Linked DNA regions of Homo sapiens: all the other regions are linked to region 2. The links are contacts of gene promoters, found by promoter capture Hi-C in blood cells and fetal thymus (Javierre and others, 2016). All regions are on one chromosome and are shown on one strand. Each heading gives the region's core, a stretch centred on a gene start or on the middle of the fragment in contact. The rest is flanking DNA. Distances are from core to core; before and after follow the strand shown.

Region 1 (3,650 bases), core at 237-2,736, 310 kb before region 2:
GCCCACTGCCCATGTAAGATGTGACTTGCTCCTCCTTGCCTTCTGCCATGATTGTGAGGCCTCCCCAGCCATGTAGAACTGTAAGTTCAATTAAACCTCTTTCTGGCTGGGCACGGTGGCTCACGCCTGTAATCCCAACACTTTGGAAGGCCGAGGCAGATCACCTGAGGTCAGGAGTTTGAGACCAGCCTGACCAACATAGTGAAACCCAGTCTCTACTAAATACAAAAAATTAGCCAGGTGTGGTGGCGCATGCCTGTAATCCCAACTACTTGGGAGGCTGAGGCAGGAAAATCGCTTGAACCCAGGAGGCGGAGGTTGCAGTGAGCTGAGATTGCGCAATTGCACTCCAGCCTGGGCAACAACAGCGCAACGCTGTCTCAAAAAACAAAAAAACAAAAAAACCAAAAACCTCTTTCTTTTGTAAATTGCCCAGTCTCAAGTATATCTTTATCAGGAGCGTGAAAACAGACTAATACAGATAGGGTCTCACTACATTGCCTAGCCTAGACTGGTCTCAAATTCCTGGCCTCAAGCAATCCTCCTGCCTTGGCCTCCCAAAGTGCTGGGATTATAGGCATGAGCCACCTCACAGGCCCAGAATGTCAGGTTTTTGAGTGAATTTTTCTCTATCCAGTGAAGGTGGCTCCACAGACTCACCTGTGACTGGATGCCTTAGCTCAGAGCTCTCAGATCCAGGAGCTCCTTGATTCTGTCCTGAGTCCCTCAGCTCACAACTTAAGCCCATTGATCGATGGTCACAGCCTCAGCCCTAATGACAGGTACCAACCACGTCCTCTGGGCTCCAGGCAACTGGGGAAAGAATGAGATTCTCAGGCCCCACAGACAAAGCTTCAAAAGCTGGCCTCTAATGGGGTGACCCTGGACAGCCAAGCTATGTTTCCCCAACTATAAAATGGGGTTAATGATGGTACCTGCCTAGTGGGGTGGTTGAGAAAACAATAAATGCCAGATCCAAGTGCACAACAAGAACAAGTGAGTATGGCTAATGAGAACACATTTCAATCCATTTCTCCACCTCTGAAAACCTGGCTTGCCAAACATGGCCAGCCCATGCCATGCTGACCAGATACTACACATGTCCCTGAAATCCAGACAGCATCTCCCCCATGCAGCTCAGCTGACCGGACTCTGAACTGCCTGTTGGGTACATTGCTCTCAAGTGGAGATTTTACCTCCCAAGGTCTTACAAGAGAGATGAAGAAACTGAGGCCTAGAGCGGAAGGGGCCTTGCCAAGGCAGGCTGGTGGCAGAGGCTCTGAGACAGCCATGAACTCAGAAGGATATGTCTCAAGGAGCTCACCGACACCAGGCAGGTAGGACAGATTGTTGCCCTCTGAGTCCTCAGCGTACATGCTGTCAAACAGGAAGGAGCCATTCAGGTGTTCCACAAACGCAGTCTGCAGGCAGAAACACACGTAGGTAGGACGGCTCCTGTCAGGGGCCCCTGCATCATCTCACAGGCCCATGAGGAAGGCAGGTCAGGAGGGAGCATGTTCCAGACAAAGAGAATGGCATGTGCAGAGGTGCAGAGGCATAAAACTGCAGGCTGTTTCCAGAATGTTATACATTTCTCAGTCTGGTTGCAAGGAGGGGTGGAGACTGGTGGGAAAGAGGCCAACTGGGTCCAGTCATGAATTCAGGGCCATGGCTACAGGACCTGAGCCGTTCCTGGCATGTCATGGGGAACTGCCTTAAGGGTCTTAAGGGGCCTCTGACAGACTGTTTTTAGCACATTCTCTCCAGCAGCTGGAGGCAGGAATGCCAGTAAGGAGTAGGGTCAGGGTCTGGACTGAGACGGAGCTGGCCCTGGGGCAGACAGCAGATGAGCCAGGAAGGGAGAGGGCATCAGGCCCTGTGGAGGGAGCATGATTTCTGTGTTTTCAGAGCCTGGGGATCCCTGAGGACCGTTTTACTTGATCAGTGCCCTCTTGTGGGCATCTGAGGGGGCCGAGGGCGTGCAGCCTGCCGGAACGGTACCTTGTGCTTCTCTAGCTCCTCCCGCTGCGCCTGCTCGTCCTCCAGCTGGGCCTGCATCAGGTTCTCCTGGTGCTTCAGCTCGTCGATGCTGTACTGGTGCTTAGCCTCCGCAAGCTTTTTCTGACCAGGGAACGGGAGTGGCATTGTTACCAGAGGTTCCTCCGAGCCACACCGCCTCTGCCATGCCGCCTCTGCCATGCTGCAGCCTCCCGCGCATGGGCAGGGGTGTTGCACAGGGGCCTGCATGAAGGCTGTGAAAGCCATGAGGTCTCGTGGATGAGAATGCCCATCTCCTGATGACCCTCACCAGGTTTTTGTGAGCGCAGGGAAATCAGGGAAAGACCAGGAGGAGCGGAAGGCAGCGTGGCAGGCTGGGGTTCCCGGGGCCATCTCCAGGGCAGGAGCCACAGCAATGGAGCGCTCCCCTCGCCCCAGACTGGGTGTTCTCCACAGAGGACTTGCTCTCTCACTCCCAACAGCCCTCAGCAGGCCTTCTGGCCCTCTTTTAGGGAAGGAGGACAACAGGACAGAGGTAGAGTGAGGCCATAGGGCTGGTCACGAGGGTCTGGCCCTTGGCTCTCTCCACCGCACTGGCTCATCCCCCTGTACCTGGCCAGGAATGCTGGCACCTCTAGAACTTAGTCCCCGTCCCCCAGCTCACTCCATGTGCCCCAGGTGATCCCACCTGTACCATGGCTTCAACTACTGCCAATTGGCAATCCTCAGATGACACTCAGGTCTCTACCTCCAGCCCTGACTCTGCCCCTGAGAGCCAGGCCTGAGCCTCTGATGGCCTGGTTCCCTCTGGAGCTCAGCTGTTAATATTGCTCCTGGGATGACACCAACTTAGGGTGAATCCTGGCTTGGCCTTGAGCCAGTGATCCTGGCTGCTTGCCCTCCTTGGGCCTCCTCAACTTCTTTTCTTTTCTAATTTTTTAATTTTTTCACTCTGTTGCCCAGGCTGGAGTGCAATGGCATCTTCTTAGTTCACTGCAGCCTCAAACTCCTAGTCTCAAGCGATTCTTCTACCTCGGCCTTGTGAGTAGCCAGGATTACTGGTGTGTGCCACCACACCTGGCTAATTTTGGTAGTTTCTGTAGAGATGGGGTCTCCCTATGTTGCCCAGGCTGGTCTTGAACTCCTTGGCTCAAGCGATCCTCCCGCCTCAGCCTCTCAAAGTGCTGGGATTACAGGCGTGAGCCACTGCTCCCAGCCCTCCTCAGCTTCTTCATCTGGAAAACTAGACAGTGCAGGATGGCTGTGAGGTGGCCCTGGGACAGTGTGTGGAAGAGGCCTGGCCCCTGGGAACGCACACAAAACAGTACTTACAAGGGTGCTGCTGGAATCACTCTGACAGAGTCAGGTAAAGGGATTAGGAAGAGGGAGCTGCCCTTTCTCTCCTAGTTGTGGGCAGGGGAAGCTACTCTTCAATGCCCCTTTTCCAAGAAACCTGGGGGCTTGAGGAATCTGTCTCACAGGGCTGGGAGACTGAGAGGGAGACACTTGCTGTGTGGTCATCAATGCGCCGGTAGTCCAGGTACATGAGGTCAGGAAGGTAGGCACAGATGAACATCTTGTAATCCTCTGCCTCAGAGATAGGGTTCCTAGAGAGGCTGAGCGTCCGCAGGCACTTGAACCGCCGGAGGTAG
Region 2 (4,111 bases), core at 221-2,720:
CTCCCCTCCCCCAGCCCCCACCGGCGCATTGTTACACTCGCTCCCATCCATTCAGAGCCCGAGGCCCGCCGCGCCCCCGCCAGCCCGGGCTCCGCGCAGGAGAGCACCGCGGCAGCCCGCACTCCGGCCCCTGCGTGGACTGGATAACGACCAAGAGCCCCAAGAAAGAAAACTGCTAGCCGGGAAAACGGGCGCCCCAGGAAGCTGGGGCCGCGACGGCCTAGGGCCTGGCTGGTGTTTCGCTTCCCCTCCGCCCCACCACGGAGGCCCCTGGCGCGACCAGGCTCCAAATGTCACCCTCGCGTCCTGCCACCCCTTGTCCCCGCCGCACTCGGCCCCCATGTCCTCCTCCCGGGTTCCCTGCCTTCAAGGCGCGTGAGAGGGGGGGCCGGCCTCGAAAAGGGCGGCGGGCTGCGCCGCCGTCTGTGGGGCGCAAGGCTCGCGTGTCCGGGGCCCCCGCCCGTGACGTCATCCCCGAAGGGCCCGTGCCTCCCGGGCCTGGCCGCTACAGAGCTCCCCAGGTCGCGGGGGCCGCTTCCTGCCCGGCCTCGGGGCCTGCGCACAGGCCCCGGGGCCGCTGCCCGGGTAGGGACACCGCAGAGAGCCCGAGCACCCATCTCGCCACGCACGGCCTTCGCCGGCCCTGACTCCCAAGCGATGGCCACGCCGGGCCCGGGTCACGCATGGGGAAGTCAGCTCCCCGTCCCCCACCTCGGACGCACTCACAAAGCTCACCTCCGCCCCCGGCGCCCCGCGAATGCACCCCACGTCCCCACCCCACGCTCCGCAAAGACTCCGCGCCTCGGCGCAAGCAGATCCCTTGCCACACTCGCCCCTCGCGCCCCCATGCCCCCACCCGACCTCAGCTGGCCGCACATCCCCCAGAAGACCCTCAGCCGCGGCGCAGGGCGCCCCCACCCTGCAGCTCCCCAGACGTCCATCCGGTGACCTCGCGCACCCCCCACACCACACAAAGCAAGGACCCCGCGGACCCCACATCTCCACCCAGCGCGCGCGCTCGGCGTCCGAACCCGCCTCGGCTCATCACCCGGCCTAGGATCCCGACGCCTCGCGCCGCCCCCGCCCCGGGGCAGGATACACTGCGCCCCCCGCGCCCCGGCGCTCGCTGCTCACCTCGGCGCCCGCGCTCACTCGGGGGCCTTGGGTCTGGCGCTGCGACTTCGCGGCCCGGAGGCCTGGGTGGCCATGGGGGTCGGGGCGCGGCGGCCCGGCCGGCCCGCGGCCAGGCAGGAAGGAGGGTGGGCCGCGGCGCCCCCTCCTCGCGCCGGCGCTAGGGCCGCGGGCAGGGCGGCCTGCTCGGCTCGCCTCTCGCCCTCGCTGCACTCGCTCTCCCACTCGTCTCTCGGAGCCCAGCCGCGGGCGGGGGCGGCGCCCGGGGACGCGGGGAGCGGGCCTTGGCCGCGCACCCGGCCGGGCCTGCCTGGTGTCCGCGGGTGCCGCGAGGAATGCGATCCCCTCCGCACAGGAAGAGCGGACGAGCGGACGGGCGGGCGGGCGACGCGCGGGGGGAGAAGGAGAGCAAGAGCGCGAGGAAAAAAGTTCCCGGGCGGCCTGGCTGCGCTCGCTCGCGGCCCCGGGCGCCAGGTGGGCCGTGCGCGCCCCGACAGCACCCCCTGGCGGTCCGCGCGCCCCACTGCGCGCCCCCCGCCCGCTGGCCGGCCTGCGGGAGGGGGCCTCTGCGGTGGGATCCCGGTGCGGCCTGGGAGGACACTAGCGCCCTGCGTACAGGAGCTTCCAGCGTCAGGCCAGGCCCCCACCCTCACCCCACCATTAGCCCTCACCTGTGCCCACTTCTTTGCAGTTTGAGAAACATTTTCGATTTCAAAACTCCATTGGCTTCATGTAAACTTCATTTACTGGGCACCTGGCACCTTGCTGAGTCTTGAGGAATCAGCAGAGACAATGCGGTCCCTGCTGTCGTGGAGCTGGCATCCTGGTGGGAAGAGACAGACAGCAAACAAATGCTTAGATACATGACGAAGATAATTTTAGAGCAGTAAGTGCTAGGACGAAAATTAGCAGGTGAAGTGACGGCTAGGGCTCCTTGGCTGGGGGAGAGAGAAGGAGGCCTGTCTGTGCAAAGATCTAAATAGCAAGAGGAACCGCCATGGGTAGAGTCTGGGAAGAGCATTTTGTTCTTTTAGAGGCAGGGTCTTGCTGTGTTGCCCAGGCCGAACTTGAATTCCTGGCCTCAAACAGTCCTCCCACCTCAGCCTTCTGAGTAGCTGGGACTACAGGGGCCTGCCCTCCTGGGAAGAGCATCATTGGCAGAAAGAACATCAAGTGCAAAGGTCCTGAGGCAGGAGAGAACTTGGTGAGTAAGTGGAATTGTGAGGAGGCCGTCAGCAAGGGGACAAGTAATGGGCACATTGAAGTCAGAGCCATATCGGGAGGGCCAGAGCCTGCAGGGCTGCAGAGAGCTCAGTGAGGAATTTGTTTGCAATTCTAGTGCAAGGAAGGTAGCCACTGGCAGACTTTAAACAGAGGCATGTTGAATGAGAGAGTCCTTGCATGAAACTTAAGGTACAGACCTCGGAGCAATTTCATGCCTAGGTCTCTACTTGCCATAGCTCAGGTGGGAGCTCACTGCCACCTGCTTGGGAAGCCTCTCAGCCCCACCCAGGCTCTAGGGTCTGTGGGATATGACCCCATTAACAGCCCCATCGAAGCCTCCCTCATTTGTCCTTTGGTAGGGCAGAGGGGAGCTGGTCAAGGCATCAGAGCTTGTGGGTGACCTGGGACAAGTGAATCCTGCATCTGCAAAATAAGGTATTGTGATAGATGGGGGGCCCTCACTCTGTCCCAGGCCTGCTGTGCCCCTTCTGTGCATGGTCTCATTAGATCCTGGTGCCCCCTCTGTGAGGTCGGCTCATCACATTTTGTGGATGAGGAAACAGGCGCAGAGTGGTGAAGTCCCCTGTCCAGGTTCTCAAGCTACAGGACAGAATCAACACAGGTCCCCACAGTCCTTCCTACTGGACTTGGCTACCCGTCTCCCAGGGTGAATGTCAAGAGCAAGACAGAGCTGGATCCCAGTGCGAACTGTGTTGTTTTAAGCTTGTTTTAAGTGCGGTTTCTGGATGACAGATCTGGTTTATTTTTATTTATTTATTTATGTATTTTTTTTTTGAGACGGAGTTTTGCCCCTGTTGCCCTGCCTGGAGTGCAATGGTGCGATCTTGGCTCACCACAACCTCTGCCTCCCAGATTCAAGCAATTCTCCTGCCTCAGCCTCCCGAGTAGCTGGGATTACAGACATGCACCGCCACACCCACCTAATTTTGTATTTTTAGTAGAGACAGGGTTTCTCCATGTTGGTCAAGCTGATCTTGAACTCCTGACCTCAGGTGATCCACCTGCCTCGGACTCCCAAAGTGCTGAGATTTCAGACATGAGCTACCGCGCCTGGCAAATCTGGTTTCTAAACGTGGCTCCTCTATGCCCAGCTGGGTGGCTTTGGGCAAACTACTTAACTTGCTGAGCCTCCGTTTCCTCATCTGTAGAATGGGGATAATAGTACCTACCTCATGGGTCTGTTGAGAGGATTGAATGAGGTACGTGTGGAAAGCATTTAGCTCACAGCCTGGCATGCAGTAAGTGCTATTACTGCTTTAAGATGCTAGATTAATGGGAACAGTCCCTATCATCCATCCAGGGCTCCCAATCTCCACCCCGAGCTGGTCTCCTGCCCTCCCTGCCTTACCTTAACCTGCTCCTGAGTGGAGCCTAAGGGAAGGCTGGTTCTAGGGACCCCAGTGGGAGGCAAGACAAGGAGGTCTTGCTGGGAGATTTCTGGTTCCCACACAAGGGTCCCCAAGACTAGCTTCTCCACCTGGAGAGGGTGGGAGACCAGCTGGAACCCCAAGGAGAGTCAATTTTCTGGCCTTGGAATTAGGTATTTTTTGTTTTGAAAATTCCTTGGTATCAAGTTTACATGACTGGGGCCACTGGACCCTGTAGGCAGGGCTGGGGGTACAAAGAGGATCACAAGCCTGGCCTCTTTGGGAGCCATAGCTCAGGCACCACTCAAGGAAGCACATTTGTTCAAGGGATTAGCATTTCTGGATGTCAGTTCAGCGAAGGGTTGGAG
Region 3 (4,070 bases), core at 810-3,309, 330 kb after region 2:
GCATAGAAGCAGAGCATAGAGGTCTGCAGGGGGGTTGGGAAGGGAGTTGGGGGGACAGCCACCCTTCCTCTGCCCTGGGCTGCGGCTCCTGCCGCCGAGCTTCCCTGCCTGGCTGGGCTGCCCCAGGCCTCCCTCCCTCCCCAGCATTTGGGCCCCTCGTGAATGAGGACACATTTTACAGAGTCATGTGACCCCCCGCCCCGTGACCACCCAGCAGCCCATGTAAGAAGACCACGTGATGGAACCCGAGGGCTGAAAAGTGCCATTAGTGCCACCCCAGGGTGCACGGGACGCAGAGCAGGCCCTGCCGCAGTACTCGCCACACAGCAGCCTCTGTCGCCTGCGGCAAACAGGCCACATCCCCAGCCCATCTGTTCATTGGAGGGTTTAGACCCAAATGCTGGAAGTAAACTTAATCTGGTGAGACTGCTCCCACGCCTGTCCTCCACGGCACTGGCCATAGCCCCTCCAACATGAGTCATCGCCAGCCTGGGGCCGGCTGTTATTGACCCGGATGTCCTGGTGCGAAGCCTGTTCTGCTTATGGTGACTTCAGACCAGGCCACCCACCCCCTGAGCCCGCTGTGAGGCGTCACTGCACTTGTCACAGGCTCTGCTGCCAGGTTTGCCGCCACCACCACCCCTCGCTATTTCTGGGCCCTTTCTACGACATCATCTGCAACCACTGTGGGCCAGAGCTCAGCTGCTCGCTCAGAGCATGGGCATGGTGTGCCAGCTGCTCTGCCCTCCAGGGAGCGTCCACAGGCTGGGAAGCAGAAGCGGACAGTGCAGTGAGAGAGCAGGAAGGACGCGAAAGCCTGGTCAGACTGTGTGACCCCCTGGGGGTGAGCGTGCCCTGGGCCTCCCAGGCCAACGAGCTTTGCGCACGTGCACATGGGTGGGTTTGAGCTGCGTTTCTGACACACGCAAGTGGAAGTCTGGAACCTGGAAGGGGGCCAAGGTGGCGGGGGGCGGGGTGGGCAGTGAGGACCCCACCCAAGCTGGGTAGGGGCTGCAGTGGGGAAGCAGCCAGGGACTTGGGCCAATTGCCCACTGAGGCTAAAGCTGAAGGGACCCAGCACAAGAACGTCTCGTGCTGGGACACGCTGGCCCACATGCCACCTGCTAAGGCTCATTAAGGGGTTGCCCTCCGCCGGGGCGGGCTGCCCAAGTGCAGCAGAGACCGGCTCCCCACAGCACAGGTGCAAATGGACTGATGAGGGATCCCCAGCGACACATGTGCCCTGGGAAGTGTGTGGTCTGAAGTCCTCACATCCCTCGGAGCCTGGAAGGGGGTGAGTGACAGGACAGAGGCTCAGCAACGCTGGCCAAGGAATCTGTCCTTCCTAGGCATGGGACACCCCGCTCAGTGTGGGGGTCCCCATCAGCAGCTTGCGCAGTCCCTGGGCCCTCTGGGGTGGAGACGGGTAGAGGGCCCAGCCAGAAGGGCTCTGCCACATCGTCCTTCACAAAAACGTCTGAGGAAAAGGCCACGTGGACAAAAGGAGGGCCTCCTGAGAAACACTGAGCAAGGCTGACCCAGGTCGAACGCCGCATGGCCTCGGGAACGTAACTGCACCTCCCGAGCCTGCCTCCTCCCCCCCACAGGTGGGAATGGCACTGCCGTGGACTGGAGAAGGATCAGAAGCTTTCCTCACATGCATGGCCTCATCTGGCCTGACGACCCCACGGGGTGAGGACTCACAGCCTACATGTGTCAAGAAGAGCTGGCCTAGGGTGGGGAACCTGGGCCAGTGAGCCCTGGACAGGCCCAGGCTGCTCTCCCCCTGGGCTCAGGCACTCGAGGAGTCCATGCAGGAGATACCAGGGGTCCCTCAGAAGGTGACCTGTGGTCAGCCCACCCCTGGTCAGAACCCCAGGCTCGGGGAACCACAAACCCCAGAGAGGTCTGAGGGCCAGGAGCAGTGTTCCCATCCTCAGCAGGGTCCCCAGGGTGGGGGCGAGGCCAGGCAGCAGTGGCCCCTCACCGAGGACAGATGGACACCCTGCACAGACAGGGATGAAGGGCCAAGGGGGAGCAGCATGGGGACAATGACAAGGCCCCTCTGCTAGAGGCCCCCCTGCTGGAGGCCCCGCTGCTGAAGAGCAGGTAGGGGAGTCAGATTCCTCCACCCTCTGGCAGGACAGAGAAACAGGGGCACATTCCCCACATACCTGAGCGTGCGGCCACGATTCCTACATGCTCCACAAACCTGCTTTCCCAGCGCCCTCTCCACCTGGGGGATGTCACCCCTTCCAGGGGCTCTGGTCCTAGAGCTCTGAATCTTTCCAATATTTTCAAATGAATCACAACTTTCACCGAGAGCTGAGTCACTGAGAGGCCAGCCTGGTGGATAAGGGAGGGATAGAGCTGATGTGCCATGGGGCAGAACCAGGCCTAGCTCTCCTAACGGGGGTGGATCTTCTTTTCTGGGGTTCAAAAACTGGTTCTGAGGCAAAACACAAGCTTCCCAAGCTTTCAAGAAAGTGACCTTCATTTCAATCAGAATTTTTTTGTTGTTGAGATGGAATTTTCTCTGCCACCCAAGCTAGAGTGCAGTGGCGCGATCTTGGCTCACTGCAACCTCTGCCTCCCGGGTTCAAGCGATTCTCCTGCCTCAGCCTCTCGAGTAGCTGGGATTACAGGCGCCCGCCACCACGCCCAGCTAATTTTTGTATTTTTAGTAGAGACAGGGTTTCACCATGTTGGCCAGGCTGCTCTCGAACTCCTGGCCTCAACTGATTCATCTGCCTCAGCCTCCTAAAGTTTTGGGATTACAGGCGTGAGCCACTGCGCCTGGCCTCAATCAGGAGACTGTTGACACGATCATGAATTTGGGGTCTCAGCCAAGGTCAGTGCAATGGGGACGGCAGCAGCCGGCTGAGCATCCAGGTGCAGACGGCACCTCACTCATCAACGCCTGCTTCCCATTTCCACCTCAGCAAGCTCCCCCCAGCCCTGGGTCTCTGCAGGGCGTCTCAGCCAGGGGCTGGCCCCTTCTTCCACATAGGAGACCGTGCTGGGACCTGAGGCCCCCGGGGCCTCCTCCTGCTGCTCCACAGTGCCTCGGCAGCCCCAGGCACCCCTCGAAGTGCTTGTTAACGTCACAGCAAGTTGCTTTGAGACCGTCGGGTGGGGTCATGTTCTGAAACATTTTTGCCCCTGCAATTATTTTTTTTTCTTTAAATAAATTATGTGGCTGAAGCAGCTGCCCACCTCGGGGTGAGTGATGATAACAGCAGAGAACAAATGTGGCAATTTGGAGCATGGAGTTCCTAAACTGACCTTTAAAACTGATGGCAATTATCAGTCTAAAAGGTTTCGCAACAGTCCGTCTCCTGAAGGATTCAGAGCATGTTACTCTTGCGGATGCTTGGTTAGGAGCTGACGGAGACTGCCCAGCCCTGCCCTGCCCTAGACTCAACAAAGATTCCCTGGCTGGTGTAAGAGGCAGGAGGGAATGTCCCCCAGTGGTACCCCACCAGGCCCTGCTCCCCTCTTTGTGGACAGAAGGCCTCAGGGCCCCTCCACAGCTCCCTCGGGGTCCGTGAACACTGCTCTCAGCAACCCGACCCACACCCCTGCACCAAGTCAGCCCCCAGGCCCGGGGCTCTCCCTGGGCAGGAGGAGGGAGGGAGAAACCAGGATGTGGCTGAGAAAATCTGGACAGGATTGAGTTTCTGTCATCAGAAGGACCCCCAGGATGGAAACAAGCCAAGTTGTTTTCTGCACCCCAAGCTATAGTCACAATGTTTTCAGGGTGTGGCTGGCCCCAGGAGAGTCCCTGTGACTCGAGTCTTCTGATGGGGCAGTCCCTCTCAGGACAGGGCGTGGAGCAGGTGGACAGGCCCTGCTGGGGACAAGAAAGGAGTTGCACATCACACATTCTCCTGGCCCTTCATGAGGAGGGACTTTCAGGGCCCCACAGGTGAGACCTCAGACAGCAGGAAGAGGCAGAGGGACTCAGGAGCAGCTGGGCAGCCAGCACCCCAGGGTCAGACTTCCCTCCAGAGCCATGTGGCAAGACAGCCAGGACTCTTCCAACCACCACCCTGCCTGGACCAGATGGT
Region 4 (3,806 bases), core at 1,304-3,803, 290 kb before region 2:
GGCCCTGGTCCCCGACGGCCAGCTTGAGCATGTCATCGTCCATCACCCTCGGCTCCATCGAGTTGCACGGCTGGTTCATCTTCCCCCACGTTTTCCCTAAAAAACACCGCATTCTTCCTTCACGGCCTGCTTCTTTCTCTGTTTGAGGGCAGGGTCTGGCTGAGGTTTCCCCCTGTAGTGTCTTGTGGCCACTGGCACTCTGAGGAATGCCCCACGCCCAGCCCTGGGTCTGCTGCATCTCGGGGTTTGTATACTTACGCCAAGGCTGCTCCAGGGCTTCCTGGCAACCACCTGGGCCTGTCCACAGGGTTTCATCCCTTGACCCTACAGCCACAGCTGGGACCCTCGCTGGACCCACTGGACTGGTGTCCACACTGGTCTCCCTAGCCTGTGATCTTGACTCATCTTATGACTGTGGCCCTGTGTCAGGCCTCTGACTTTGTATGCCCATCCTCACTTGGGCTTGTGGGTACCAACCACTGACTGTGCTCCCTGGGCAGCCCCAGCCAGGCCTGTCAGCCTGCAGCTCCTCTTCCTTGAGCACCTCACCCCCTCCAGGCCGTCATGTGTGTATGCCCCACACCACACCACAAGCTTCTCCTGGTGCAGAGGGAGCCCCTGACCCAAGCTGCCCATTCACGTCCTCCCCGTGGGAGATGTGAAGTTGAGGCTGTGGAATGAGAGTGCCCATCGGAGCTGGCTGCTTGAGCTGGGGAGGAATAGGGAGTGTGGGCTGGCTGGGTACATAGTTAAGCAGAGAGCAAGAGGGGGAGGAGGCAGATGCACAGAGAAAAGCAGAGATGGGAACCTGGGAATCAGAAAACAAAAGACAAAGGACAGACAGATCGACACAGACAGAGGCTGCCTCCTTCTTGCTGGCTTTCCAGTCCCTAATGTCCCTAGGTCCAGGCCTCATGAGAGTTTCCTGTTTCTCACATGAAATCCTCTTCTACTTAAGCTAGCTCCAGTAGGTTATTTTTTAATTTAATTAATTTATTTTTTTTGAGACAGAGTCTCGCTCTGTCGCCCAGGCTGGGGCACAATGGCGCGGTCTCAGCTCACTGCAACGCCCGGATTCAAGCGATTCTCCTGCCTCAGCCTCCTGAGTAACTAGGATTTCAGGTGTCCACCACTACGCCTGGCTAATTTTTTGTATTTTTAGTAGAAACGGGGTTTCACCATGTTGGCCAGGCTGGTCTCAAACTCCTGACCTCAGGTGATCCACCTGCCTCCGCTTCCCAAAGTGCTGGGATTACAGGCATGAGCCACCGTGCCCAGCCTCCAGTAGATTCTGTTGCTAATGGTCCAGAGGGATTTGACTGAGACACCACAGCACAGGGGGGATCTGTAGATTTGGTCAGTCACAATGTGAGGCTGACTCCAGGCTGCCGTTCGTGGCTGGACCACATTCTCATCCTTATCAACCCTCTTGGTGAGGACATCCAGGAGGGATATTTTCCCCCACTTTCCACCCCTGATTCTTGCCTCCCTGCTGGCCCTACTTCCTATCTTTGTCTACATGCCTTCCCAGCATCTGGGCCTCCCTGAACCTCCTGTCCTTCTGCCCTGCTGGTCCCTGATGCTAGGCAGCCCCTGTGCTCTGTTTTTCATTCCACTGGGCACTGCTGGAGAAACTCCTGGTGCAGGGCTGATGGTGTCTGCTGAAAAGCCAGGTTGGGCCATACAATCCTGTTACCTGGTCTTAGAGACTTCCCTCTAAGACTGCCCTCCTCTTGCCTCCCTGACCATCCACTTGGATGCAGCTTCTGCAAATATGCATCCTCTGCCCTGAACTGTCCCTCATCAAATGTCCCAATGAGCTCTTGTGCACACTTCTCTCTTGCTTCCAGGGGAGGCATAGCCTCCACACCCTTCAACCCCTACCCCTTCTCCACCTGTGCCTTCCGTCCTCCCAAGACCTTGGTCCTTTTCCTCCCACTCTCTCCAATCTGTTCACACTGGCTCCACCTCGTTGGGGTGACTGATTCTACCCCCAAAGACAGTTCCAGACCTCGGCCTCTCTCTAGCTCCCCACTCTTATGCAATGGCTTCCCCTGCGGTTTCCCATAACTTGTCATCAACTTGTCTTTGGGGGAATTTTAATGTGTTATATTTGGCTGATGTTTTCTGCAAAGTGTTTGGCCTTTTTTTTGGGGGGGGGGTGGGGAGGTCAGGCGCGGTGGCTCACACTTGTAATCCCAGCACTTTGGGAGGCCGAGGTGGGCGGATCACAAGGTCAGGAGATCAAGACCATCCTGGCCAACATGGTGAAACCCTGACTTTATTAAAAATACAAAAATTAGCTGGGCATGGTGGCGCATGTCTGTAATCCCAGCTACTTGACAGGCTGAGGCAGGAGAATCGCTTGAACCAGGGAGTTGGAGGTTGCAGTGAGCCGAGATCGTGCACCACTGCACTCTAGCCTGGTGATAGAGCGAGACTCCATCAAGAAAAAAAAAAAAAAAAAGGTGCTATACTTTGGGAAATGACTCTTAATTTTGATTTCAAAACTTTAACTGACTTATCCCTCCTACTTCATCAGGGCCTGGTACCTGTGACAGATCAAGTTTGCTTTCAGTCAAGCCCAGCAATTGCTATGCTAGGAAATGGGGGATTGTTATTACATATGCTATTTGTTAAGCACATCAGAGCAGGATTTGGATCCTGACTGTGCATCTTTTGGCAACTCACTTCACCTATCTAAGCCTTGGCTTTCCCATCTGTAAAAGGTGGATAATTTCTCCCTTCTGCATTTGTGTGAGATCACGTATTTAGTCCACACATGGGTAGTGAGTAACTGCTATATGCTGTGAATAAAACAGACGGACTTTAACCCAGCTTCAGGCATGAATCAAACAATAATACAAATATTTAACTACAAACCATGACAATTTGTAGGTGTAGGGAACTATGAAATTGTACATTAGGGGCACCTGGCCTGGCCAAGGAAGACAGGGCTGATTGGAAGGACAAGCAGGAAAGAAGGAGGAGGTAACTTTGTGGAAAGGCCCTTTAGGTGGGAGAGAACAGACTTGTTGCACTTTGGCTGAAGTGATGCAAGTTTGGAGAGGTCTGTGGGAGTTTTGTTATTATCCTAGAATCCCTGGAAAGCACCTAGGGCTTAATAAGGGCAGCAACATTAGCTGGGCATGGTGGTGCATGCCTGTAGTCCCAGCTACCCTGGAGGCTGAGGCAGGAGAATCGCTTGAAACCGGGAGGCGGAGGTTGCGGTGAGCCGAGATCGTGCCATTGCACTCCAGCCTGGGCAACAAGAGCGAAACTCCATCTCAAAAAATAAAAAAAATAAGGGAAGCAATGTGATCAGATCTTAGTTTTTAAGAAGCTCACTCTAGCAACAGTACTGAGAATTGCAAAAGTACTGAGGTGAGAGATGACCAGGGTGTTAGCAAGATGTAGATGGGAGAAATTTCTAGAAACTTAATTTACATGTAGGGCTAATACTCACCAATATCCAGATAAGAAAACAGAAGCTAGTTAAAAAGGTTAATTAACATGCCCAACTTCATACACTTAGCACGTGGCAGAGTTCATTTTCCTAATCATGACTCAACTGTATCCAGGGTACTGGGGACTATCATTGCCACAGCTCACAGTGTTTCTCACAGTTGTCCTGGGTTCAGGGCCAAGGCCCAAACAGTCCTCTTCTATGGGGATCTTATAGTTTACCACCCAACCTGGGTCCCCTTTGACTTGCCTGATGATAGTGTTGTTGAAGACCAGAGAGGTTGGAGCTGGGGAAAGCAGCAGAGTTTTACACAACTGTCAACGGAGTGGCCTCCTCACAG
Region 5 (4,118 bases), core at 1,252-3,751, 380 kb before region 2:
TTAAAAAGCTGCTGACAGCAAAATTCACATTGTCCAGTACTGGATCAATTCACATTTTAGTTACTAATTCAATTTGCAAGGATTAAATAAAAACCAGCAAGATTGAGATAAACATTGCCAAAAATACAGTATTGCTTAAAAGTGCTTAGAAATGAGTTCTTTCACCTATAATTCATTTTCATCTCATTTACTCTGCTCTGTGCATAGGGATAAGGCCTTATTGTGAGCAACTGAGATCACTGAAATAAGCTCTCAGCATCCAAATAAAGCACAGAATCTATACAGAGACAGGCTAAGATGTTGCTTTTGGGTTTGATGAGCCAAGGGAGAGCCAGCTGGGCAGCAAGCCCTCCCCGTGGCCTCTGTCCTCAGAGGTCCTCACCATTCTGAACTCCTATGGTAGTAGTAGCCCTCTATGGAGGCTGCTGACTTCTGAAAGCAGATGTAGTAGAACCCGGCAAAAGAAGCACCACTGATGTCTTTGATCGTGTGATCTGGGACCAGAAACTGTTCCTGCACACAGATGAAGAGGGTCAGTAACAGATAGCATTCTCTGACCACCCACGGGGCCTCCCTGTTAAGCATCAGGGGGTTCTAAGGACCACTCGAGAAAAATATAGGATCTCATAGTCTAACCTAGACTTGCTGGGTGATGGCGGGCCCGTGGGGTCTCAGCCTGACTTCTAAAAAGCGTCCATGTGCTCCTGGAGTATTCTATATACTAAAGTGACAAACTGTGTCTTGAGCTCACTAGGATCAGCAATTCAGAGAAGGTACCATGGCCGAAACATCTAATATATAAATCAATACCTACTCACCTGCCTGTCTGCCTGCCTCTCTATCTTTCAGAGACCACAGACAATCAACCTGGGAAGAGCGAAGTTTCTGCTCCAGTTCTCAGAACTGTCAACAGATGCTTGATAACATCTAGAACAGTGAGTCGCTTCTGTAGGTCTGTGGACCATTCTGAGTGCAAAGCAGTTGCCAGTAGCCCCTGTGACACCCCCTCCAAGAGCTTGACGCCTTGTCAAAAGCAGTCAGAACGGTACTGTTCTTTACCAGGGACCTTAGGAGAGAGGCAAGCTTGCCACCTCTGCTGGAGCTGAAAGCTGGAAACCCAGGTCCTGGCACCTACTTTCCCAGAGAGATGAGGTCAGAAGCTCCAGGGCCTCAGGTGGTCTACTAAAGGACCACAGATGAGCCACTCTGAGACATTCTTTGGAGGCAAAACAAGCCCATTGCTTTTTAAACAAATTTAAGACACCCTCCCATTCCTTATTCAACTTCTAAAATTGTGGCTTTTAAAATTAATTTTAAAATTCAGATCGGGTGTGGTGGCTTATGCCTGCAATCCCAACACTTTGGGAGGCTGAGGTGGGTGGATCACCTGAGGTCAGGAGTTTGAGACCAGCCTGGCCAATATGGCGAAAACCCGTCTCTACTAAAAATACAAAAAATTAGCAGGGCATGTTGGCGGGCACCTGTAATCCCAGCTACTTGGGAGGCTGAGGCAGGAGAATTGCTTGAACACGGGACGGGGAGGTTGCAGAGAACCGAGATCGCGCCATTGCACTCCAGCCTGGGCAACAGAGTGAGACTGTCTCAAAAAACAAACAAACAAACAAAAAAACCCAAAAATTAGCCAGGCGTGGTGGTACGCGCTTGTAGTCCCAGTTACTCAGGAGGCGGAGGCAGGAGACTTGCTTGAACCTGGGAGACGGAGGTTGCAGTGAGCCAAGACTGTGCCACTGCACTCCAGCCTGGGCAACAGAGTGAGATTCCGTCTCAAAACAAACAAAATTCAAACAATAAACTTCCTTTAACAGGTTGTTTAGTTGACATGTTTCCCGCTAGATGGCAAGCTCGTGAGCATACTGTTCCCTGTTTACTCTCTGCATCTGGCAACCTACTGGAAGAGTGGTGATCCCCACTTCTTTTTTTTTTTTTTTTTTTTTTTGGTGAGACAGAGTCTTGCTCTGTCACCCAGCCTGGAGTGCAGTAGCGCAATCTTGGCTCACTGCAACCTCCACCTCCTGGGTTCAAGTGATTCTCCTGCCTCAGCCTCCCGAGTAGCTGGGATTACAGGCGTGCACCACTACACCTGGCTAATTTTTGTATTTTTAGTAAAGACGGGGTTTCACCACATTGGCCAGGCTGGTCTCGAACTCCTGACCTCGTGATCTGGCTCTCTTGGCCTCCCAAAGTGCTGGGATTACAGGCATGAGCCACCGCGCCCAGTGATCCCCATTTCTTTTTTTTTTTTTTTTTTTTTTGAGATGGAGTCTTGCTCTGTCGCCAGGCTGGAGTGCAGTGGCGTGATCTCAGCTCACTGCAACTTCCATCTCCCAGGTTCAAGTGATTCCCCTGCCTTAGCCTCCTGAGTAGCTGCGACTACAGGGGCATGCCAACATGCCCGGCTAATTTTTTGTATTTTTTAGTAGAGATGGGTTTTCACCATGTTGGCCAGGATGGTCTCAATCTCTTGACCTCATGATCTGCCTGCTTCAGCCTCCCAAAGTGCTGGGATTACAGGTGTGATCCACCACGCCCGGCCGATCCCCACTTCCTAAAGTGGTTAGCTATGCAAAATAAAGACCAGGAAAGGCAACTCAATATGATTCATCTTTATGAAAGCTGACAAGATTTCAAGATAAAACGACTTTTTCCCTGCAGACTGGGGACTAGGGGTTGGTATGTTCTCAAAGTTATTTAACAAACTGGCTTCCTGATTTTGCTATTCTGGGGCTGTAAATATCACGTTATCAAAGCAGGGAGCACAAATGACCTCGCAGCTAAAAGCCAATCCATCAAGTCAGTCAGGTGGGGCTCTCTGAGGTCTGCTGAGTCAAAAACCCGTGTTCCATTCCCGGTCCCTCATTTCCTGAGCTGGAGGGAAGTAGAGGAGGTGAGACTTTCCTGAGCTCTGGGAAAAGGATGTGGTGGAGGGCACCTGGCCCACGGATGGTGTTTAAGCCTGTAGAGGGATCTGGGTACAACTGATGACTAAGTTCAAAGCAAGTTTGGCTCTGCCTTGAATCCACAGAACACTTGGAGTGATTCAACTTGGGGGTTCAACAAGATTCTTGGGTGGGAGAAAGGAAAGGGAGAAGACAATGTTAGAGGCAGCCACCTAGGCCCAAATCCACTTGCTACCCACCAAAAGCACAGCGAGGAGGAGCTGTCTGGGACATCGGCAGTTAACCAGTGCGTGCCCTGGAGCTGGGCCCACTTTTTATAGGCGTGCAAAGACCCTGCCATGAAGACTTTGCCATGACAACCAGCTGTGACGAGCACTGGACATGGGGAGCCCTTGGTTAGAGTGAATATGTAGGTGCGATACAGGGCCTGGCTTGCTGGGAGTCTGGAGGGCCACCTGGTGGGAACTTACCTTCCACCTCATGAAGACGTAGTCTCCATTCTTCAGCTCTTCATAATCAAAGTCATCTGAGTTAAATGATTTTGCATACTGATAAAAAGCCAGAAACTTGCCCTGAAAGCAGAAAAGAGAGTGTGCCGATTGACTGAGAGAAGGAGAGGCTGCTCTCAGAACTATGCTTATGTGCCCAGGTAAACTCACCTTCCCAAGGCATGACAGCTAGGGACGTGGCTCCCAAAAGGGCAGCTAAGACCAAGTAACAGATGGGGCCCTATGGTCACCCCATTGAATGCAGACTCAACCCTGGGGCAGATACCTGGACTCCAGCTGGGGCCCCACTGCCCTACACCTGCCTTGTTAACATGGCTGAGGAAAAGGCCAAAGGATGGGAATGGTGAACAGACAGACAAAATAAACAGACGAAAGCTAAGAAAAATTAATGAGAAGACCTCTGCAAGTAAATCCGAAGTAGCAAAAAGAGCCATGCAAAACAGCTTAGAAACAGCCTGCCCAGTCTCAGAGAAGAGGGCTTTGTGAAGCTTGTGTCTCTGCATGATCTAGGGGCTTGGGCCAGCTAGCTAAGCAGACACTAGAAACACATGATAGCCTTGTCCTTCGATATCTGCGAGAGATTGGTTCCAGGACCCCCATGAATACCAAAATCTGCAGATGCTTAAGTCCCAGATATAAAACAGTGCAGTATTTGCAGATAACCTACACACATCCTCCCCTATACTTTATA
Region 6 (4,015 bases), core at 337-2,836, 310 kb after region 2:
TTTAAGTTTTTTCTCTTTTTTTTCTTAGTCATTCTTGTTAGTTTTGTCAATTTTTGTTGGTCTTTTAAAAGAATCAACTTTTGTTTCATTGATTTTCTCTATTGTTTTTCTATTCTCTATATTATTTATCTCTGCTCTAATCTTAATTATTTCCTCTCTTCTGCTATTTGGGCTTATTCTGTTTTGTTTTTGTTTTTGTTTTCTAGTTCCTTAAGTTGTAAAGTTAGGTTGTTGATTTGAGATCTTTCTTGTTTTTCACCATAAGCATTTTTTTTTTTTTTTGAGACGGAGTCCCGCTCTGTCGCCCAGGCTGGAGTGCAGTGGCGTGATCTCGGCTCACTGCAAGCTCCACCTCCCGGGTTCATGCCATTCTCCTGCCTCAGCCTCCGGAGTAGCTGGGACTACAGGCACCCGCCACCATGCCCAGCTAATTTTTTTGTATTTTTTTAGTAGAGACAGGGTTTCACCATGTTAGCCAGGATGGTCTCTATCTCCTGACCTCGTGATCCACCCACCTCGGCCTCCCAAAGTGCTGGGATTACAGGCTTGAGCCACCGCGCCGGGCCTTCCCATAAGCATTTAACAGGTCGAAAATTCCCTTTTAGCACTGCTTTTGCTGCATTCCCCAAGCTTCAGTGTGTTGTTTTTGTTTTTATTCATACCTCTTTATTTTTTAAAAGTCATTTTATTTTATTTTATTTTATTTTATTTTATTTTATTTTATTTTGAGATGGGGTCTCACTCTGTCGCCCAGGCTGGAGTACAATGGCGCAATCTCAGCTCACTACAGCCTCCACCTCCCGGGTTCAAGCAATTCTCCCACCTCAGCCTCCCAAGTAGCTGGGATTACAGGGGCACACCACCATGCCCGGCTAATTTTTAGTAGAGACAGAGTTTTATCATGTTGACCAAGCTGGTCTTGAACTCCTGACCTCAGGTGATCCACCAACCTCAGCCTCCCAGAGTGCTGGGATGACAGGCGTGAGCCACAGTGCCCTGCCTGAAGTTATTTTAAATCCCATTTGAGCAGTCACTCACCCAGTCAGTGGTGTGGGATCTCCTGCCCTCTCAGACCCACAGAATGAATGAGAGCTTGGCCGTCCAGCACCACGTGGGTGAGTCCTGACCCTCCAGAGAGGAAGTCCAGCTGACATCACCCCAGTGTCTCTTGGCATTCAGCAGCATCAATCCCACAGTCTCCAAGGCCCCCAGAGCCCTGCCTGGCTCAGTCTTGGAGACACCAGAGCCCTATTCCTGCCTTCGCCATCATCTCGGTCAGAGGCCTCTCTGGGATGTCTCCAAGTACCTTTTCTTTTCCATCCCTAAAATCCAAAAACCTGATCGGGAGGGTGTAGATTCTCATCCCAGGGCAGGCAAAGTCCCTCCCTTGGGGGCTTCAAGCATAGGAGCAACTTCTCGGCAAGACTCTGTGCTCCGTCAATCAAAATGCATTTCTGAGCCCTGAGTTATGTGTTTCTATGCTTTTCATCCTAATTCAATTATACGTCTCTTTGAAGCCTCACTTGACTCCTCCTCCTGCAGGGCCTTAGAAGGTACTAAATAAATGTGTCCAAATGGCGGGTGATTAATGCATGGATGCCAGGGGGTCAATAGCAAACAGGGACTGGGGAGAGGAAACACCTCCAGGGACGGAGGACAGACGAGAGTGTGCCCCAGACCCCAGCCCCTCCGGCCTCCCTTCCCTCGCTGAGCCTTGGCAGCTTTGCCTGTCAGCCGTGCCGACTGCCCTACAGATTAGAACGCTGCGCTGATCCCAGCTCTGTGCTCAGTGGCTCCAGTACCTCGCATTCTACCCAGCATGTCATCTGCTCTGTGCACAAATTCTGGGCAAAGCAGGGTCACATATTACAACCAGGGCCCAGAGAGGTCCCAGACTCACACAGCAAGGAAGAGAGCCCCACATCAAACCCTTGGGCTGCTGTCCAGCTGGCAGCCCACGAGGGTCCCTGAGAGCCCGCCTGGGTCTTGGGTTGCTCCCCTGCGGGACATTTCCACAGATGCAGAGCTGCTGGTCACAGCAAAAGAGACGCAGTCCCTTCCCACCAGGAGCTGAGACTCAGGACAGGAGGTCCCGTCCTGGTGTTCTATGCTTTTCCCACCAAGAGGCTCAGCGATCCAAAACGTAAGCCCGGAAGTCGGAAGGGCCAGGGGTCATGCTAAGGCTGTGGCACAGATGACTCCCAAGAGCTCTCTTCCTCATCTGTAAAGTAGGATGCCTCCCCCGCACTCCCAGAGCAGGCAAAGTCTGTTCTCACCAACAGCTCCTCCCTGCAAAGCCAGGGCCTCTGCCCGAAGACTTCCCCTGGCCAAAGAACATGCTGCTGTGTGCCCAGGGCAAGCCCGAGGGCCTGCCTGACAGCTGACACCCCAGGAGCAGCCCTCAACTAACAATTGATGGAAGCAGATGGGTAAATCCCCAGCTCCCGTACCTCTGGGCTGGGATCACCTGAAGCATGCTGTGCACAGTCTCCCAGAGATCCCCAGAAGGACCAAACCCCAGTTACCCACAGCAGTAAGCTTCTCATCCCTGCACCCAGTAATCAAATTCCTTTTCCTTCACCATCTCACTTCTCCACCTCACCATCAGTGCTTCCAGGAATCAGCTTCCAAACAAACTTCTTGCATTCAACTCCACATCTCAGGGTCTCCATTTAGACACAGGAATTGGAATTATAATAAGAGCTAATGCTTAACTGAATGTTCTCGATATCCCAGTCTCTCAACAATAAAATGGGAAACATTTCACTCTTATTATTTGTTTGTATCATGTATCAGTCAGGAGAGGTCACTTTAAGCTACAGTAACAAACAACCCCCAAATCTCAAGGGCTTAATACCACTAAGGTTTGGCTTGATGGGAGTGGTTTCTCTCTTTGCAGATCTTCAGGGACCCACTCAAACTAACATGTTTCACCATCTTAAGACACCCCCATCTCAAAGGGAGGCTTCAAAGTTTGCCAAAGCAGGCAAGAGAGTAGCACACAGGCTTTTCCACCAGGAGTGGCATCGGTCACTTCTGTGCTCATTTCATTGGCCAAGCTACTCCACTCCAAAATCTCAACCCCAACTCTGGACCACAGCCAAGACTTCTGAGAGAAGACCCATCCTTGGGTCTGCACCAACCATCTCTGAGTCAGTTACTACTTCTGTGTAACAAAGCATGCAAAACTTAGCAGCAGAGACAACACTATTGTTTCTCATAATTTTTGTGCCTAAGGAATTACAGGAGGGCTCAGCCAAACAGTCTGTCGTGCGTTTGCGGTTCTGAGCCCCTGGCGGGGCATCTCTTCCTCCTGATGTTTATCTGTGTGGGCTTGTTGGACTTCCTCACAGCATGGCAGCTCGAGCAGCTGGCCTGCTTACGTGGCATTTCAGCAAACCAAGCAGAAGCTGCATTGTTTCTCACATTCTATTGCTCCTCAGCAAGTTACACATCCTCCCAGAATCAAGGGGAGAGACAGAGCCATGTGCAGAGGACATATGGGCTAGACAGATTACTGCGGCCACCACACCCTGCCAAGGAGGAACCCTGTGGGGGTGAACCCTGTGCCACATCCTCGAGGTGCCCCCTCTGCCCCGTGATGGAGAACTGAGAGGCACCAGCGGCCTGCATGACAAACTGCTGTCCCTTGCTGGGACTAGCTCAGAAGTCATGTTGCCTACGTAGTTGGCCCCACCCTACATGTCAATAATGGGTTTTTTTTGGTACTGGTACGTGTTCAGTTAGTATCTGGATTAGAGTACTTGAAAATTGGTGGCACTGAAGGAACTCCAAGTGTCATCAACCACATACATTTACCATGACATTAGATTCCTGCTACAGCTGTGTGAGGTGAGCCAGGAGGGCACTGCCACTCCCCCTTTTAAAAGATGTTAAGGCCAGGCGCGGTGGCTCACGCCTGTAATCCCAGCACTTTGGGAGGCCGAGGCGGGCAGATCACCTGAGGTCAGGAGTTCGAGACCAGCCTCAACATGGAGAAACCCCGTCTCTACTA
Region 7 (3,941 bases), core at 6-2,505, 330 kb before region 2:
GACCAGCCTGGCCAATATGGTGAATAAAAATACAAAAATTAGCTGGGCATGGTGGCGGGTGCCTGTAATCCCATCTACTTGGAAGGCTAAGGCAGGAGGATAGCTTGAACCTGGGAGGCCGAGGTTGCAGTGAGCCAAGATTGCACCACTGCACTACAGCCTGGGCAACAACAGTGAAACTCCACCTCAAAAAAAAAAAAAAAAATTGGCATTAAAAAAATTGACAAATAACTGTACATATTGATGGGGTACATAGTGATGTTTCAACACCTATCATGTATAGTGATCAGATCAGGGTATTAGCATATCCGTCTCAAACATTTATCATTTCTTTGTGTTGAGAACATTCAATATCCTCCTTTTAGCTATTTGAAACTATATTATTGTCAACTATAGTCATCCCATAGTGGTATAGAACACTAGAACTTATTCCCCCTATCTAGCTGTAATTTGGTATATCCTTTAACAAATCTCTCCCTATTCCTCCATCTCTCTACCCTTCCCAGTCTCTAGAAGCCTCTGTTCTTGTTTTTACTTCTATGAGATCAACTTTTTTAGCTTCGGCATATGAGTGAGAACATGAGGTGTTTAACTTTCTGTTCCTGGCTTATTTCACTTAACATAATGTCCTCCAGTTCCATCCATGTTGCCATGGATTTCATTCTTTTTTTATGGCTGAATAGTATTCCATTGTGTATAGGTACCACATTTTCTTTATCCAGTCATCTGTTGTTGGACACCTAGGTTGATTCTGTATCTTGTTATTGCGAACAGTGCTGCAGTAAACATGGGTGCAGATATGTTTTCAATATAGTGATTTCCTTTCCTTTAGACAAATGCTCAGTAGTGAGATTGCTGGATCATATGATAGTTCTGTTTGTAGTTTTTGAGGGCCCTCCACAATGTTCTTCCTAGTGGCTGTCCTAGTTTACATTCTTACTTACAGTATATGAGTTCCTTTTTCTTTGCATCCTCACCAGCATTTGTTATTTTTTGTCTTTTTGATAATTATCATCCTAAGTGGGGTGAGATGATGCCTCATTCTGGTTCTTATTTGCATTTCCCTGATAACTAGTGATGCTGAAAAGTTTTTAATGTATTTGTTGGCCATTTGTATGTCTTCTTTTGAGAAACATCTGTTCAGATGTTTTTAATTGAATTGTTTGTTTTTTTGCTATTGAGATGTTAGAGTTCATTGTATATTCTGGATATTAATACCCTGTCAGATAAGTAGTTTGCAAATATTTTGTCACATTGTGTAGGGTGTCTTTTCACTCTGTTGTTTCATTTGCTGTGCAGAAGATTTATAGTTTGATATATTCCATTTATTTTTGCTTTTGTTGTCTGTGCTTTTGAGGTCTTATTCATAAAATTTTTTCCCAGGCCAATGTCCTAAAGCATTTCTCTTGTTTTCTTCTGGTCATTTTATAGTTTCAGGTCTTTTTTTTTTTCTTCTGAGACAAAGTCTGGCTCTATTGCTCAGGCTGGAGTGCAGTGGTGCAATTTCAGCTCACTACAACCTCCACCTCCTGGGCTCAAGCCATCCTCCCACCTCAGCATCCTGAGTAGCTGGGACTATAGGCAGGTACCACCATGCCCAGCTAATTTTTGTATTTTTTATAGAGAGGTGGGTCTTTGCCATGTTGCCCAGGCTGGTCTCCAACTCATGAGCTCCAGCGACCTGTCTGTCTCAGGCTCCCAAAGTGCTGGGATTACAGGCATGAGCCACTGCGCCCTGCCAGTTTCAGGTCTTACATGTAGGTCTTAGATCCATTTTTAGTTGATTTTTGTATAGAGTGAGAGATGGGAATCTAGTTTCATTCTTCTGCATATGGATATCCAGTTTTCCCAGCAAAATCTATTGAAGAGACTGTCTTTTCCCCAGTGAGTGTTCTTGGCGCTTTTGTCAAAAATCAGTTGGCTGTAAATATATAGATTAATTTCTGAGTTCTCTATTCTGTTTCATTGGTTTATGTATCTGTGTTTTTGTTTGTTTTAAACAGGCTTAATTCACTTTATTTTTCTTATATAAAAACCCTGTGTTACTTTGGGAAGCCAAGGTGGGCGGATCACTTGAGGTCAGGAGTTTGAGACCAGCCTGGCCGGCCAACATTGGTAAAACCCCATCTCTACTAAAAATACAAAAAATTAACCAGGCATGGTGGTGTGCGCTTGTAGTCCCAGGTACTCGGGAGGCTGAGGTAGGAGGATCATGTGAACCCAGGTGGTGGAGGTTGCAGTGAGCCAGGACTGCACCACTGCACTCCAGCCTGGGCGATAGAGCAAGGCTCCATCTCAAAACAAAACCCTGTGTTGTAGCCACAGCTGAAGCCTGAGTCCTCCACACAGAGACTCTGGTGTGGGTCTTGACAAGATGGTCAGTGAATTACTGAGAGGAAGACTTGGTGAACACAGTCTCCTCCCAGAGGTCAGGGGGCAGGTAGCTATAGGTCTTGGAGATGGCATCAAAGGTGGCCTTGGCAAAGTTGCCCAGGGTGGCACTGCAGCTCCTGGCTGAGGTGTAGCAGTTGTCAATACTGGACATCAGCAGCATCTTCTTGGGCACAGAGGCCAAGAGGATGCCAGTGCCCCTGGGTGCAGGAATAAGGTGCAGCAGCACAGAGCCGCAGCAGCCTGTCATCTTGCAAGGGACAGTGTGGGGCTTGCAATCTTGGTCCCCCAGTGGCCTCTGCACGGGGACAGTAGAGAGCTTGGTCAGGACAGTGATCCCTCTGACAGCAGTGGCTGCTTCCTTGGAGCACTTAACACCCAGAGTGACACGGCCATTGTAATCCCTGATGGCAACAAACGCCTTGAACCTGCTGCGCTGGCTGGGGCAGGTCTGCTTCTGCACTGGCATAATCTTTAAAACCTCATCCTAGGCCTGGCGTGGCGGCTCACGCCTGTAATCCCAGCACTTTGGGAGGCTGAGGCGGGCAGATTACCTGAGGTCAGGAGTTTGAGACCAGCCTGACCAACATGGAGAAACCCCATCTCTACTAAAAATACAAAATTAGCTGGGCATGGTGGCGCATGCCTGTAATCCCAGCTACTCGGGAGGCTGAGGCAGGAGAATCACTTGAACCTGGGAGGTGGAGATTGTCGTGAGCCAAGATCATGCCATTGCACTCCAGCCTGGGCAAAAAAGCAAAATTCCGTCTCAAAAACAAACAAACAAACAAACAAACAAAAAAAAAACCTCATCCTTGAGAGAGGCCCCCAGGAAAAAGTCAATGATCTCAGACTACTTGATGGGCGGGGAGAAGAGATAGATCTCTTCCAGGGACTTGATCTTCATGTCCTTGACCAGGCAGCCCAGCTTGGTGATGGGCATCCACTCCTTTGCCTGGACCTTGCCTCTGAGAGCTCCCCGCAGCCTCAGCCCCTGCCCTGACTATGGCCACAATCCTAGCCCCAGAAGCTGCTGACAAAGCTTCCATGGTTTCCCATTCCAGGCTTCTGGGCCCTCCTGCTGCCATAGTGTCATCTACCATTTGGTGTTTTCTTGGAGAAATGTGTGTCTGTTTTATGCCAGTACCATGCTGTTTTGGTTACTACAACTTTGTAGTATATTTTGAAGTCTGGTAATGTGATGCCTCCAGCGTTGTTCTTTTTGCTCAGGATGGCTTTGGCTCTTCAAGGTCTTTTGTGATTCTAAATTGTAGGATTTTTTTTCTATTTCTGCGAAGAATGTCATTGGTGTTTTGATGGGGATTGCATTGAATCTGTAGGTTGCTTTGGGTAGCAACAAAGTGACTTTTGAGAAGGCAACAGCTGGTGCCCCTCCCCAGGACCACCGCACTGCTAGTGGCTTGAGGACTTGCTGCCCCATGGCATGTGGGATCAGATCATTCCATCATACCCACAAAGGGCACCTGACAACCCTGCATTCTCCTCTGCCACAGACAAATGAGCAGCTTGGCTTGATGGGCAGGGACAAG

The links. The method cuts DNA at HindIII sites, captures the fragments that hold promoters and counts their contacts. A CHiCAGO score of 5 or more calls a contact.
Region 1: a contact is called between a fragment that was not itself captured here and the fragment with the promoter of RAI1 in region 2, in 2 of 17 cell types (naive CD4 T cells and total CD8 T cells). The highest score is 6.5, in naive CD4 T cells.
Region 3: a fragment that was not itself captured here is called in contact with the fragment with the promoter of RAI1 in region 2 in 5 of 17 cell types (fetal thymus, M1 macrophages, monocytes and 2 more); the score reaches 8.6 in fetal thymus.
Region 4: a contact is called between a fragment that was not itself captured here and the fragment with the promoter of RAI1 in region 2, in 8 of 17 cell types (naive CD4 T cells, naive B cells, total CD4 T cells and 5 more). The highest score is 7.9, in naive CD4 T cells.
Region 5: a fragment that was not itself captured here is called in contact with the fragment with the promoter of RAI1 in region 2 in 2 of 17 cell types (total CD4 T cells and naive CD4 T cells); the score reaches 5.3 in total CD4 T cells.
Region 6: a contact is called between a fragment that was not itself captured here and the fragment with the promoter of RAI1 in region 2, in 1 of 17 cell types (M1 macrophages). The highest score is 6.1, in M1 macrophages.
Region 7: a fragment that was not itself captured here is called in contact with the fragment with the promoter of RAI1 in region 2 in 5 of 17 cell types (M1 macrophages, total CD4 T cells, naive CD4 T cells and 2 more); the score reaches 5.8 in M1 macrophages.

The regions. Positions count from the first base shown.
Region 1 is chr17:17,992,770-17,996,419 of GRCh38, reverse strand. DRC3 (dynein regulatory complex subunit 3) reads right to left here. Exons shown (of 14, transcript NM_031294.4): 6 at 3,509-3,650; 7 at 2,002-2,121; 8 at 1,309-1,421. Among named protein-coding and RNA genes, the nearest start is that of DRC3, 22 kb to the right of the region's middle. RefSeq lists a silencer at 1,418-1,584. The HindIII fragment of the contact is 1,263 bases long and covers 855-2,117 here.
Region 2 is chr17:17,678,817-17,682,927 of GRCh38, reverse strand. RAI1 (retinoic acid induced 1) reads right to left here and starts at 1,470. Exons shown (of 6, transcript NM_030665.4): 1 at 1,135-1,470. RefSeq lists silencers at 1-759, 746-918, 930-1,009, 1,070-1,209, 1,240-1,749 and an enhancer at 828-1,429. The HindIII fragment of the contact is 10,976 bases long and covers 1-3,080 here.
Region 3 is chr17:17,348,824-17,352,893 of GRCh38, reverse strand. No RefSeq gene overlaps it. Among named protein-coding and RNA genes, the nearest start is that of NT5M, 47 kb to the right of the region's middle. RefSeq lists enhancers at 325-619, 884-1,463. The HindIII fragment of the contact is 819 bases long and covers 1,650-2,468 here.
Region 4 is chr17:17,973,872-17,977,677 of GRCh38, reverse strand. It overlaps DRC3 (dynein regulatory complex subunit 3), which reads right to left. Exons shown (of 14, transcript NM_031294.4): 2 at 3,716-3,806; 3 at 1-96. The coding sequence starts at 79. LOC107984989 (a long non-coding RNA gene) reads left to right here. Exons shown (of 3, transcript XR_001752801.2): 3 at 1-122. Among named protein-coding and RNA genes, the nearest start is that of DRC3, 2.9 kb to the right of the region's middle. The HindIII fragment of the contact is 3,914 bases long and covers 597-3,806 here.
Region 5 is chr17:18,058,240-18,062,357 of GRCh38, reverse strand. GID4 (GID complex subunit 4 homolog) reads right to left here. Exons shown (of 6, transcript NM_024052.5): 4 at 3,389-3,490; 5 at 383-513. Among named protein-coding and RNA genes, the nearest start is that of GID4, 21 kb to the right of the region's middle. The HindIII fragment of the contact is 2,832 bases long and covers 1,086-3,917 here.
Region 6 is chr17:17,365,237-17,369,251 of GRCh38, reverse strand. No RefSeq gene overlaps it. Among named protein-coding and RNA genes, the nearest start is that of NT5M, 64 kb to the right of the region's middle. The HindIII fragment of the contact is 1,908 bases long and covers 633-2,540 here.
Region 7 is chr17:18,010,197-18,014,137 of GRCh38, reverse strand. All of the region lies in intron 12 of DRC3 (dynein regulatory complex subunit 3), which reads right to left. It also overlaps the pseudogene LOC100419436. Among named protein-coding and RNA genes, the nearest start is that of ATPAF2, 27 kb to the left of the region's middle. The HindIII fragment of the contact is 4,361 bases long and covers 1-3,435 here.